Regions from separate parts of the Homo sapiens genome. Here regions 1, 3 and 4 are each linked to region 2. Evidence: promoter capture Hi-C in 16 types of primary human blood cells and fetal thymus (Javierre and others, 2016). All regions are on one chromosome and are shown on one strand. The core of a region is centred on a gene start or on the middle of the fragment in contact, and the rest is flanking DNA. Distances in the headings are between cores, read along the strand shown.

What was found. The method cuts DNA at HindIII sites, captures the fragments that hold promoters and counts their contacts. A CHiCAGO score of 5 or more calls a contact.
Region 1: a fragment that was not itself captured here is called in contact with the fragment with the promoter of UBLCP1 in region 2 in 1 of 17 cell types (total CD8 T cells); the score reaches 5.1 in total CD8 T cells.
Region 3: a contact is called between a fragment that was not itself captured here and the fragment with the promoter of UBLCP1 in region 2, in 9 of 17 cell types (fetal thymus, naive CD8 T cells, naive CD4 T cells and 6 more). The highest score is 15.2, in fetal thymus.
Region 4: a contact is called between a fragment that was not itself captured here and the fragment with the promoter of UBLCP1 in region 2, in 1 of 17 cell types (fetal thymus). The highest score is 5.9, in fetal thymus.

What each region holds. Positions count from the first base shown.
Region 1 is chr5:160,430,646-160,433,345 of GRCh38, forward strand. No RefSeq gene overlaps it. Among named protein-coding and RNA genes, the nearest start is that of PTTG1, 10 kb to the left of the region's middle. RefSeq lists an enhancer at 1,785-1,874. The HindIII fragment of the contact is 3,173 bases long and covers 1-2,700 here.
Region 2 is chr5:159,261,936-159,264,635 of GRCh38, forward strand. It overlaps UBLCP1 (ubiquitin like domain containing CTD phosphatase 1), which reads left to right and starts at 1,355. Exons shown (of 11, transcript NM_145049.5): 1 at 1,355-1,425. RefSeq lists enhancers at 580-1,087, 922-991, 1,022-1,331, 1,088-1,595. The HindIII fragment of the contact is 1,074 bases long and covers 978-2,051 here.
Region 3 is chr5:157,860,467-157,863,166 of GRCh38, forward strand. No RefSeq gene overlaps it. Among named protein-coding and RNA genes, the nearest start is that of CLINT1, 2.7 kb to the left of the region's middle. The HindIII fragment of the contact is 5,007 bases long and covers 1-2,700 here.
Region 4 is chr5:157,915,515-157,918,214 of GRCh38, forward strand. No RefSeq gene overlaps it. Among named protein-coding and RNA genes, the nearest start is that of CLINT1, 58 kb to the left of the region's middle. RefSeq lists a silencer at 2,531-2,640. The HindIII fragment of the contact is 3,686 bases long and covers 1-2,700 here.

The sequences.
Region 1 (2,700 bases), core at 129-2,628, 1.2 Mb after region 2:
ATAATTTGCATCTTGTGGGGGTTGTTGCTATTTTGTTCTGACACTTTTTGAAATAAGACAGACTTTATTCATACCTTTACAACTCTGTAAACCTTCTGCATTTCTCTACACTACCTCTGAGCCTGCCTCTCAGGATACTGTACCTTCTTATAGTAGGAGCTAACAGTCAGGAATGCCATTATCTTGCTACCATTTCTTCTTTCTTATTACAAGTTGTATTTTTCTACTTTCCATGCCAGCCATGGATTTTACCTTTTTTCATGCTGGGTATTTTTACATTTCTATTAATATTCTTAAACTTTGTTCTAGAGTATGGGTAAGGTACCTAGAAGCAATTTGATTCATTTGAGACTTGCCTTTAATGTTAGGCATCACCAGAGCAGCATTTAGCCCAGGGCTCATTTCCCCCTACTACTGAAGTGTGAGATGCTTAGGACTCTGCTGCCCCCTGAATTATGAGGTTTTCCTGTCTAGCTGGTGGGAGCAGACACTATTCCCAGCCCTGTGTGGGCTTCAGGAATTCTTCCCTCTGATCTTTTCAGCTATATGGATCAGTGCTCTTCTGAATACTACAGGGAGACCCTCTGCAAATTTCCAGGGTTCTCTCTGTGCAGCTCTCTCCTCTCCAGTGCTCTGCTCTGCAAACTTGGCCTGCCTTGGCCTGACTCTGCTCTGTCTCTTCAACTCAGGAAATTCACTGGGCTCTGCCTGCCTCCCTTTCTTCCCCACTCTGAGGCCTGGAAACTCAAAAGTAGCCAGTAAGGATAGTCATCGGCCTCACCTCACTTATTTCACATTCCTCAGGCATCGCTGTTCTCTGTCGCCTGATGTTCACTCTTTGGGCAGCCCTCATTTCATATATTTTGTCTTGTTTTTTAGTTTCAGGCAGGAGAGTAAATCTGGTCCCTGTTACTCCATCTTGATTGGAATTGAAAGTTCCTTCTAGATATTCCTTTCATTTTTTTTCTTTTTTGAGACGGAGTCTTGCTCTGTCGCCCAGGCTGGAGTGCAGTGGTGCAATCTTGGCTCACTGCAAACTCCACCTCCCGGGTTCATGCCATTCTCCTGCCTCAGCCTCCCGAGTAGCTGGGACTACAGGCGCCCACCACCACGCCCAGCTAATTTTTTTTTTTTTTGTATTTTTAGTAGAGACAGGGTTTCACCGTGTTCGCCAGGATGGTCTCGATCTCCTGACCTCGTGATCTGCCGGCCTTGGCCTCCCAAAGTGCTTGGATTACAGGCGTGAGCCACCATGCCCGGCCTTTTTTTTTTTTTTGAGGTAACATTCACATAAGAAAATTCATTTAAAAATGTACAATTCAGTGGCTTTTAGTTCAGAGTATATGCAACTATCACCACTGTCTAATTTCAGAACACTTTCATCACCCCCAAAAATAAACCCATGCTCATCAAGCACTCATTCCCCACTTCATTTACTTTGGAATGATGTCCCTCTGCCACCAGGATGAAGTCTGAGTTGCTCAGTGTGGCTCACACGGCCTTGTGGTGGCTCCTTGGGGGTGTAATTTCCTGTCCTGATTCACCTGGCCAAACCTGTCCATCTCTAGTACTCCAATGAGATGCTTTTCTTACCAGAAGCCTTTGCACTTACCATGCTCGGCTGTGTCTGGTCCTCTCCTCCGCTCTACTGGGAGCAGGATGAGGTGTGTCCTGTGCACTGGTGTATTCTCTGCCTGGCATGTGGCAGGTGCTTCAGGGACTTGCTGAAATGAGTAAAGATGTCATCAGTCCCTGGGGATCCAGGTTTCTAGAGACCCAGCGACTGCACTGTACCCACTGTTAGCATCACACGGTATCAGGGCCAGGGAGCCTGACTTCAAGGTTTCCAGAGAGAGAGTGGTGGGGGCAGGCACAGGTCTAGGAGGTCAGCTTCTCCTACCCTAGACAGTTCCTGGTCACCTGTCTGTCTGTGCCCCACCAAGCCCAGGTATAACCTGTTTACTGAGAAGCTCCAGCTCTGCTGGGGAAACATAAACTGAGTTTCTTTCTTTTTTTATTGCCACCAACTGTGTTTTGTTGACCTGTTCTCCTTTCCTCCTTTCTGGGTGGTGGGTGATGCTGAGCAGCATTCAGACAGATTTCATAGCTTTCCAGTTACTTTTGGTTAAAATTAAACTTTGCTTATTTTAAAACTTGAGGTTCACACCTATTTCAGGCTCTTCTCCCTCTCCCCTAGTACAGGCGAGGGCTTGGCAAAAGCCCATGTGTATGCTCTGCTCACCACACATGTCCCTTCTCCCCTTCCGGTGTTATGACCCTCATAGGGGCTTAGTCCAGCCCCAAGCCTGGGAGGACGGCTGGAGGGAGAAAAGAGTCTGCTCGTGTGACAGGCCACTTGTTGGTTATGGGAAGTGTGCTGGCTTCGTTCTGGCTGTTGTGCTCTGCACGATGCTGGTGGCCTCTGCTCATGGGGAGGTCCTTGTGTAGAGAATCACCCTCTTCTCCACGGCTGAAAACCCTGTCCCTCCTGAGAATGGCAGCCTGCCTCTCTTCCCACACCTTTCCCAGGTGGGCCCTTCTATTCCTTGGTCCAGGGGCTGTCCAAGGCCTCTGCCCTTCCATGATTAACCACTGGGATCTTTTCCATCCCCTTTGAGGGCTGCAGAACCAGGATGGGGTGAAGGTTTCCCTGCAGGCCTGGGTACTCCAGCAGGTCCCCACCGTGAGAAATCTCTGGAC
Region 2 (2,700 bases), core at 105-2,604:
CCACACTGTGCCCGGCCAACATTTATCATTTGTGTTGAGACTATCCCAACCTTTCTCCTCTATTTTGAAATACAAAATAAATTATTGATTACTATAGTCACCCTACTGTGCTGTGGAACGCTACAACTTATTCCTTCTGTCTAACCATATTTTCGCTCCTTTTAACTTCTCTTCATCTCCTTCTCCCTCCTTATCCTTCCCAGCCTCTGGTAACCACAATTTTACTCTCTATCTCCATGGAGTCAACTTTTTTTTAGCTCCCACATATGAGCACCAAACTTCAATGTAAGACCCAAAACTATGCAGCTATTCCAAGAAAACGATTTGAGAAAATGCTTGAAAATGTTGGTCTGGGCAATGATTTTTTTTTTTTTTTTAATTAAGACTTTCTGAAGAAAAGGGCATACTTTTCACTGAAAAAGTTTGAGTTTTTTAAATGAGCAGATACTCATGCATTACTAGTGCAGCCAAAAATTATCAAAAGTAGGGAAGAATGCAAAATAGCGTGTGCCTCTTAACTAAAGAACTGTTAAGATACAAAACTTGGCTCTTTGCTGCCTTTCCCGCACTGCCAAGAGGGAAACATGAATTAGTTACATTGCCGTGGTGCTCACTGGGAGTTCGCTGTATGGACCAGATGGGTACTGCTCCGAATTTCCATTCAAGTCTGACATTCTTTTGTCAGCGTTTGTGTAACCGGTTTTCCTTGCATTCAGAGGAAAGACAGCATGGAAGTATGGATGGGAAGGTTGAGACGATTGGATACTGTATGGTAACCTCGATCGCAGCTCTCCTATGAGACTTGCTTCTTGGATTCTGAGTCACTTAAGCTTGCCCCTTCTCTTTCCTGACCCTCTTCCGTTTCCCCTTAGATTGGAGATTCTCCTCAGATTCTAAGTCTCTGAAATTATTAGTGTTGGCAGCCCCTGGGCCCATGGAGGGGTCTCAAGTCTTCAGTTCTCAAAGATCACCTTTTAAGCTTCATTCGGAACATGACACAGCCACACGAGTCCTAGCCCTGAATCTCACGAAGACCTCAGTACACCTGGAAAAGGCAGCACACCCAGTTACGACACTACTAGAGACGTCACACGCCTCAGCACCCATCCGCTCCCAGCCCAGAACGAGCGCACGCGCAGAACGAGAGAGCGGCCACCCAGGGATCGGCGCTATCTGCACAGCGGTTACAGTCTCGGAAAGGCCTGGCTTCTTCGTGGCTTTGTGGAGATCCCTTACAGCGGCCATTTGATTAGCACCCGAAGAGATTCAAAGGAAGCAGTTGTTCCGTCCCCAACATATTTCCGTTTCAAACCACCCACTTCCGGTTTTTCAGCCGGTTCCGGTCCCGCCCTTCACTTCCGGTCGCTTTCGGTCTCTCAGCGGCCGGTTTCTGCGTCCGCTGCCGCAGGTTCCACCGCGCTCCAGGTGAGGGGTTGCGGGGCACCCTGGCGCGCTGCCCTTGGAGACGCTGTTGGGGCTCGGGGACAGTGGCTTTGCGGCCCGCGCGGCGTGGCTTGCACTGCGGCGGGCTGGGGATAGTGTCTGTCCTAGTCTGACGCCCAGGCCCCTAGCCCCGGCCCGCTTAGTCGCGGGGGCCGCTGTCCTCCCATCCAGCAGTCTAGCCTATTTGGAGGGCTTTCTGTTTCCCAGTGGGTTTTGCGTCCCCAAACTTCATTCCTCCGTCTTCTCAGGCTTGTCCATCCCTCCCCTCAACCTCCTTGTTGAAGGCATCCCGGCCTTTTTGGTTCTGGAGCCTCCACCTGCCTCCTAATGCTCCCCTAAGTCAGTTAGCACAGCCCCCGACCCTGCACCACCTCGCAGTTGTTGCTGGTGTGCGGTTCTCGCCGGAGTTCTTAGTGCTTCACGGTTATCTTTTGCTGGGATTGTTGAAAGTTAACCTCCCGTTAATTCCCAAAGTGTTACTTTTACTGCTATACTTTAAAATTTCTTCATTTGCCACTTTTTAGGTTTGTGGTCCCGGGCAAGTTTAATTTCTTTTCAGGATTCTCATTTGTATAATGAGGACAACAGCTGTTGGTTCAGGATTGTGAAGCTTCAATGAGATAATTGTTTAGCATGTTTTTATTCCATCATGAACACCATTTGTATTGTGTTTTACAGTTTACAAAGTGCTGTCACAGGTGTTACTTCATACCTTAACACTACTCCTGTCCAGTGAATATTAGTAGCCTCATCTTGTTGAGAAGACTGAGGCCAAGAGGTGGATTGACTAGGCAAAGTCAACACAGTATGTTAGGTAGAACTCCAACCTAAACAGCTATTCTTGACCCTAGGTTGACCATATGGAAGTGTATTCTTTGCTTGCTTGTTTGGGTTTGCCAACTTCACTCCTCCCCACACCCCAAATCATTTTTCAGCTTATAAATCTGATGGGATCTGAAATGATACAAAATACTAAGAAAGAAGGTTAAATGTGAAAGCAAAATAGCTCATGCATTTATATCACACTGCTTCATTGGTGTGAACGGTCTTAATGATGAAATAAGGTTCAGTAACTTTTAAACAAATCTTAAAGACATATGCATTTACAATTTTTATGGTGTTTGTTTCGCTTGGCCCTTTAAGGCATTTGCCAACTTGGAATTTCCACTTGTGGGATAGGTGCTTCGTAACGTTTTTATGCTGCTTTATTAACCATATAGAGCCCATGCCCTCTGGCACATTTTTTTTAAGGCTGAA
Region 3 (2,700 bases), core at 99-2,598, 1.4 Mb before region 2:
CCAATCTTAGGTTCTACAATAGTTCATTACAGGCCAGGCACAGTGGCTCACGCCTGTTATCCCAGCATTTTGGGAGGCTGGGAGGCCAAGGCAGGAGGATCACTTGAGCCCAGGAGTTTGAGACCAGCCTGGGCAGCAAAGTGAGATCCCCCTGCCAGCCCAGTCTTTAAAAAAAAAAAAAAAAAAAAAAAAAAAGCCAGGCGTTGGGGCACACTCTTGTGAGGCCAGCTACTTAGGAGGTTGAAATGGAAGGATCCCTCGAAAGGATCAAATAAAGACTCCAATTCACAAAGAAGTGAAATTGATGGTTGCTAGTCATGAAGCTAGGTAACAATAATCCCAAATAAACAACCTCGGACCCTGGTCCCTCAAGTGAAACCACCTCTTTTCTATTTTCTTTTTCTTTTTCTTTTTTTTTTTTTTTGAGCTGGAGGTCTCACTCTGTTGCCCCAGCTGATCTGAAACTCCTGGGCTCAAGCAATCCTCCCACCTCAGTCTCTCAAGTAGCTGAGACTACAGGAAACCCTCTCCAAGTTGCATTCACTTAATTACCGAAAGCAGCTTTGAAAAAAGTTTCAGTAAGGCTTTCGGATTGAGGCCCCAAGAGAAAGAAGCAAGGTTGAAGGAATTGACAGGCAGAAAATTACAACAAGCAGAAATCCAAAGTTATCTCAGAGCTTTGTAATGGTAGGAGTACTTGGGCTGATATGAAGTGAGTTGGAGAGGTGGGTGGGGAGAGGCAGGTAAAGATGAGCAGAGATGGGTAGAGGAATAGGGCTTTCAAATAAGAAGTTTGTGTTTTTTTGTTGAAAAGACTATCCAGCTCAAGATCCCAGAGATGGAATGTGGCCAGAGGAGATAAGAAAGAGAAACTACTTTGCATAAATAAGAGCTCAGCAAGTTAACTTTCAAACAAGTGAGTCCAGAGTACACCTGCAGAACGGGCCTGGCCCAGAAACAACCACCTTCCCTCCCCTGGGCCTGTTTGGGTGTTCACAGCAGGGCACTGTCAGCCTCTTTGCTCATTCCAAAACCAAGTTTGCATACGTCTAGACCCATCCTAGAGTTGTCACCTGTGACATTTGCACAGTCAGCTGGAGCCATCTGGAATGTAAAGCCAAAAAATCTGCCTGTCCGCTTCTAATTCAAGAGAGCCTTTAAAGGACTCAGAAAAATCAGACCCGGAGACTTTGTTAAAAAGTGATCTCCAGAGACTATTTGCATTTCAACAAAGTGTTCCATTTTTACCTTTTATCTTGCAAGTTCGAGAGCAGTTTCCATAGTAACTTCTTTGTGGCAATTCAAATATGTTCATGGTAGAAAAATAAATGAGAAAATGCTCCACCCACTCTTCTTCAGGAAAACATATATTTTTTACTAAATGAGCTGACACTTTTAGTAAGGCCAAACCAACACACGTTTTGAAGGAAAAAAAAAAAAAAAAGGCCGGATGTGGTGGCTCACGCCTGTAATCCCAGCACTTTGAGAGGCCAAGGTGGGTGGATCACCGGAGGTCGGGAGTTCGAGACCAGCCTGACCAATATGAAGAAACCCTGTCTCTACTAAAAATACAAAATTAGCTGGGCGTGGTGGCGCATGCCTGTAATCCCAGTTACTCGGGGGGCTGAGGCAGGAGAATCGCTTGAACCCGGGAGGTGGAGGTTGCAGTGAGCTGAGATCGCATACGAAACTCATCTCAAAAAAAATATATATATACATATATACTCAGTTATGTTAATGATGTGTGTTGTGAGAAGCAGTGTAGACAATGGACACTGACTGCTTATTTCATGCGGTCACCTCCCTAGAGTTCCCTTGGGGGAGTTTAATTCATGGTACATGGGTATGGCAGCCATGGAAAAGCACCATTCAGACCTACTTTCAAGAGAACCAGTTGCAAGGAGTGTGGTTGACTGACAGCTTCCTGCTGTCTTCCTCTGGGATCATTTATGCCAACGGCATACTCTCTGTAGGGCTATTCCCAGCAATGACTGAGAAAGGTGTGCTGGAGCCAGGCCATTTCTGCCCAGTGCTGGACTCCTTCACCGGGCAATCATTGACCTGGGCTTCCCATCGACTTGGCCCAGATTTCCTCAAAGCCTTGCTGCAATCAGATACTCTTCCTACCCAATCTTCCTTCCTTCCTTCTCTTCCTTGACAGGTGTCAGAACTTCCTTGTGGTCTCAGACCCTTACCACCTGCTCTTGCTCTCGCTTCCCTTTTTCCTTCATAGGCATTTCCCCTAATATATCTTATACTTCTAATTCCATCTTGGCTTCTGTTTCCTGTAGTACTCAAACTGACACAGCAGGTGAACATTTGCACCTTGGTTTCAGTATTTGGACTCACGAGTCTTGTTTTTGATCACACCTGACTGTTCATCTCCAGAGGTCAGAATATTGGTTTCTTTCTTTCTTTTTTTTTTTTTTTGAGATGGAGTCTCGCTCTGTCACCCAGGCTGGAGTGAAGTGGTGCAATCTTGGCTCACTGCAACCTCCGCCTCCTGGGTTCAAGCAATTCTCCTGTCTCAGCCTCCCGAGTAGCTGGGATTACAGGCATCTGCCACCAAGCCCAGCTAGTTTTTTGTATCTTTAGTAAAGACAGGGTTTCACCATGTTGGTCAGGCTGGTCTTGAACTCCTGACCTCAGGTGATCCACCCGCCTCGGCCTCCCAAAGTGCTGGGATTACAGGTGTGAGCC
Region 4 (2,700 bases), core at 101-2,600, 1.3 Mb before region 2:
CATGATTTGGGCCTGTCCGTCTCTCTTGGTTGACATCTTGCCAATCCTCTCTCTCTACAGTAGGTTGATTTGGAGGCCAAAAAAAAAAAAAAAAAAGACCAAATTCTCCCTCCTTGTGTTCACATGATTTGCAAAAATGTTGTGCAGCTTCTCTCATCAAGGGGTGGAGTCTATTTCCCTGCCCCTTGACTCTAGTCTGGCTATGTGACTTGCTTTGGCTTTTTAAATACACTGGAAGTGGTCCTGTGTCAATTCTGGGCCTAGGTCTCAAGAGGTCTGGAGTACTTCTGCTCTCTCTTGGAACCCTGCCACCACCGTGTGGACAGGCCAGGCTGCTGGAGAATGGGAGCTGATTTGGAAGACAGCCCAGTCGTCACAGCCAAGGCTATCCTAGACCAGTCTACAGCTAGCGGATGCCTAGGCATGCAAAAGAGAGCCGCCTGCCCAGCTCTCAGCTGACTGCCAATACATGAATGAGCCTAACTGAAACAAGAACTGCTCAACTGACCCATAGACTCATGAGCAACAATAATGCTGTTATTATTTCAAGCCACTGAGTTTTGCCATGGTTTGTTATATAGCAATAGCTAATTGGTACACCCTTAATTCCATTTCTGTACACTGTGGGCTCTAGCCAGGCTACATCTTTTGCCGTTTTCTGTGTGTACCATCCTCATTTTTACCTTTTGGCCTTTGAACAGGTGGGTTCCTCTGGCTGAGATGCTCTTATCTTCCAATTTTACACTCTGCTTGGCTAAAGTGTATTCATGTTTCATGATTTGGCATAGATGTGTCTTCTTCCAGCAAGTTTTGCTTCTCTCTCATCATGACTAGGTTAGCTGTCACTGCTGGCAAAAGATCCCTTCTGGACCTAACTCTAGTGAGGCTCCTCTAAATCCTGTAGGCCTTGAGCTTCAGTGTCCATCCTTGCTGGACTCACATCACTCAGTTTTAGCAAGAATCTTGTTAAGTTAGCGCAGTGGTTTGAATGTGTCCCCAAAAGTTCATGTGTTGGAAACTTAATCCCCAATGCAGCAGTGTTGGGAGATGGGGCCTAATAAGAGGCGATTTGTTCATGAGGGCTCCACCCTCATGAATGGATTAATGCTGTTATCACAGGAGTGCTTTTGTTATCATGAGAATGAATTTATTTAAAAAGTGAGCTCAGGCTGGGTGCAGTGGCTCACGCCTATAATCCTAGCACTTTGGGAGGCTGAGGTGGGTGGATTGCCTGAGCTCAGGAGTTCAAGACCCACCTGGGCAACATGGTGAAATCCCGTCTCTACTAAAATACAAAAAAAAAAAAAAAAAAAAAAAAAAAATTAGCCGGGCATGGCAGCGTGTGCCTGTAGTCTCAGTTACTCGGGAGGCTGAAGCAGGTTAATTTCTTGAACCTGGAAGGAGGAGGTTGCAGTGAGCCGAGATCGCGCCACTGCACTCCAGCCTGGGTGACAGAGCGAGACATCCGTCTCCAAAAAAAAAAAAAAGAAAAAAAAGTGACCGCAGCCTCTTCTCTTGCCTTTTCACCTTCTGCCATGGGATGATGCAGCAAGAAGGCCCTTTCCAGATGCGGGCCCCTTGACCTTGGACTTCCCAGCCTCCAGTACTGTAAGAAATATTTCTTTTCTTTCCTTTTTTTAAATTTTTTTGAGACAGAGTCTTGCTCTGTCACCTAGGCTGGAGCGCAGTGAGATAATCATGGCTCACTGCAGCCTTGACCTCCTGGTCTCAAGCAATCCTCCCACCTCAGCTCCCTGAGTAGCTGGGACCACAGGTGTGTGCCACAATGCCTGGCTAATTTTTTATTTTTAGTAGAGACAAGGTCTCACTATGTTGCCCGGGCTAGTCTTGAACCCTTAGGCTCAAGCAATCCTCCTGCCTCAACCTCCCAAAGTGCTGGGATTACAAGTGTGAGCCACTGCACCCAGCTATTTCTTTTCTTTATAACTTACCCAGTCTGTGGTATTCTGTTATAGCAACACAAAATCAACTAAGACAGTAAGTTTACAGAGAATCCTCACCCTTGATATCTGATCACCCTGGCCTGCCTTTAGCAAGAATCCTGTTAGGCTAATTTAGCAAGAATTATCCTACCCTCCTAGTGATTTCCCATCCATTCATGCCTCTGCCCTGCTTCTTGGCCAAAATCCCCATTTTTTTGTTGTTGTTGTTGTATTTGGAGTTGTGCCCAATCTCCCTCCCCTACTACAAAACCCCATTACAGTAGTCTTTTGAATAAAGTGTTCCTTATCAGGATCAAAATAATTCTTTTTATTTACCACTGTCATGCAGCCACCCAACAGGTTAATTTGCCACTGGCCAGATACAGACAATTTATCAAGACAGGAATTGCAATATAGAAAGACTTTAATTCACACAGAGCCGGTTGAATGGGAGACCAGAGTTTTATTATTACTCAAATCAGTCTCCCTGACAATTCAGAGACTGAGGATTTTAAAGGATAATTTTGTGGGTAGGGAGCCAGGGAGTGGGGAGTGCTGATTGGTTGGGTGGGAGACAAAAATCATAGGAAGTCAAGGCTGTCCTCTTGTGCTGAGTCAGTTTTTGAGTAGAGGCCACAAGACCAGATGAGTCGGTTTACTGGTCTGGGTGGCGCCCTCTGCTGCATCAAAATGCAGGGTCTGAAAAGTACCTAGAGCACTGATCTTAGGTTTTACAATAGTGCTGTTATCCCTGGGA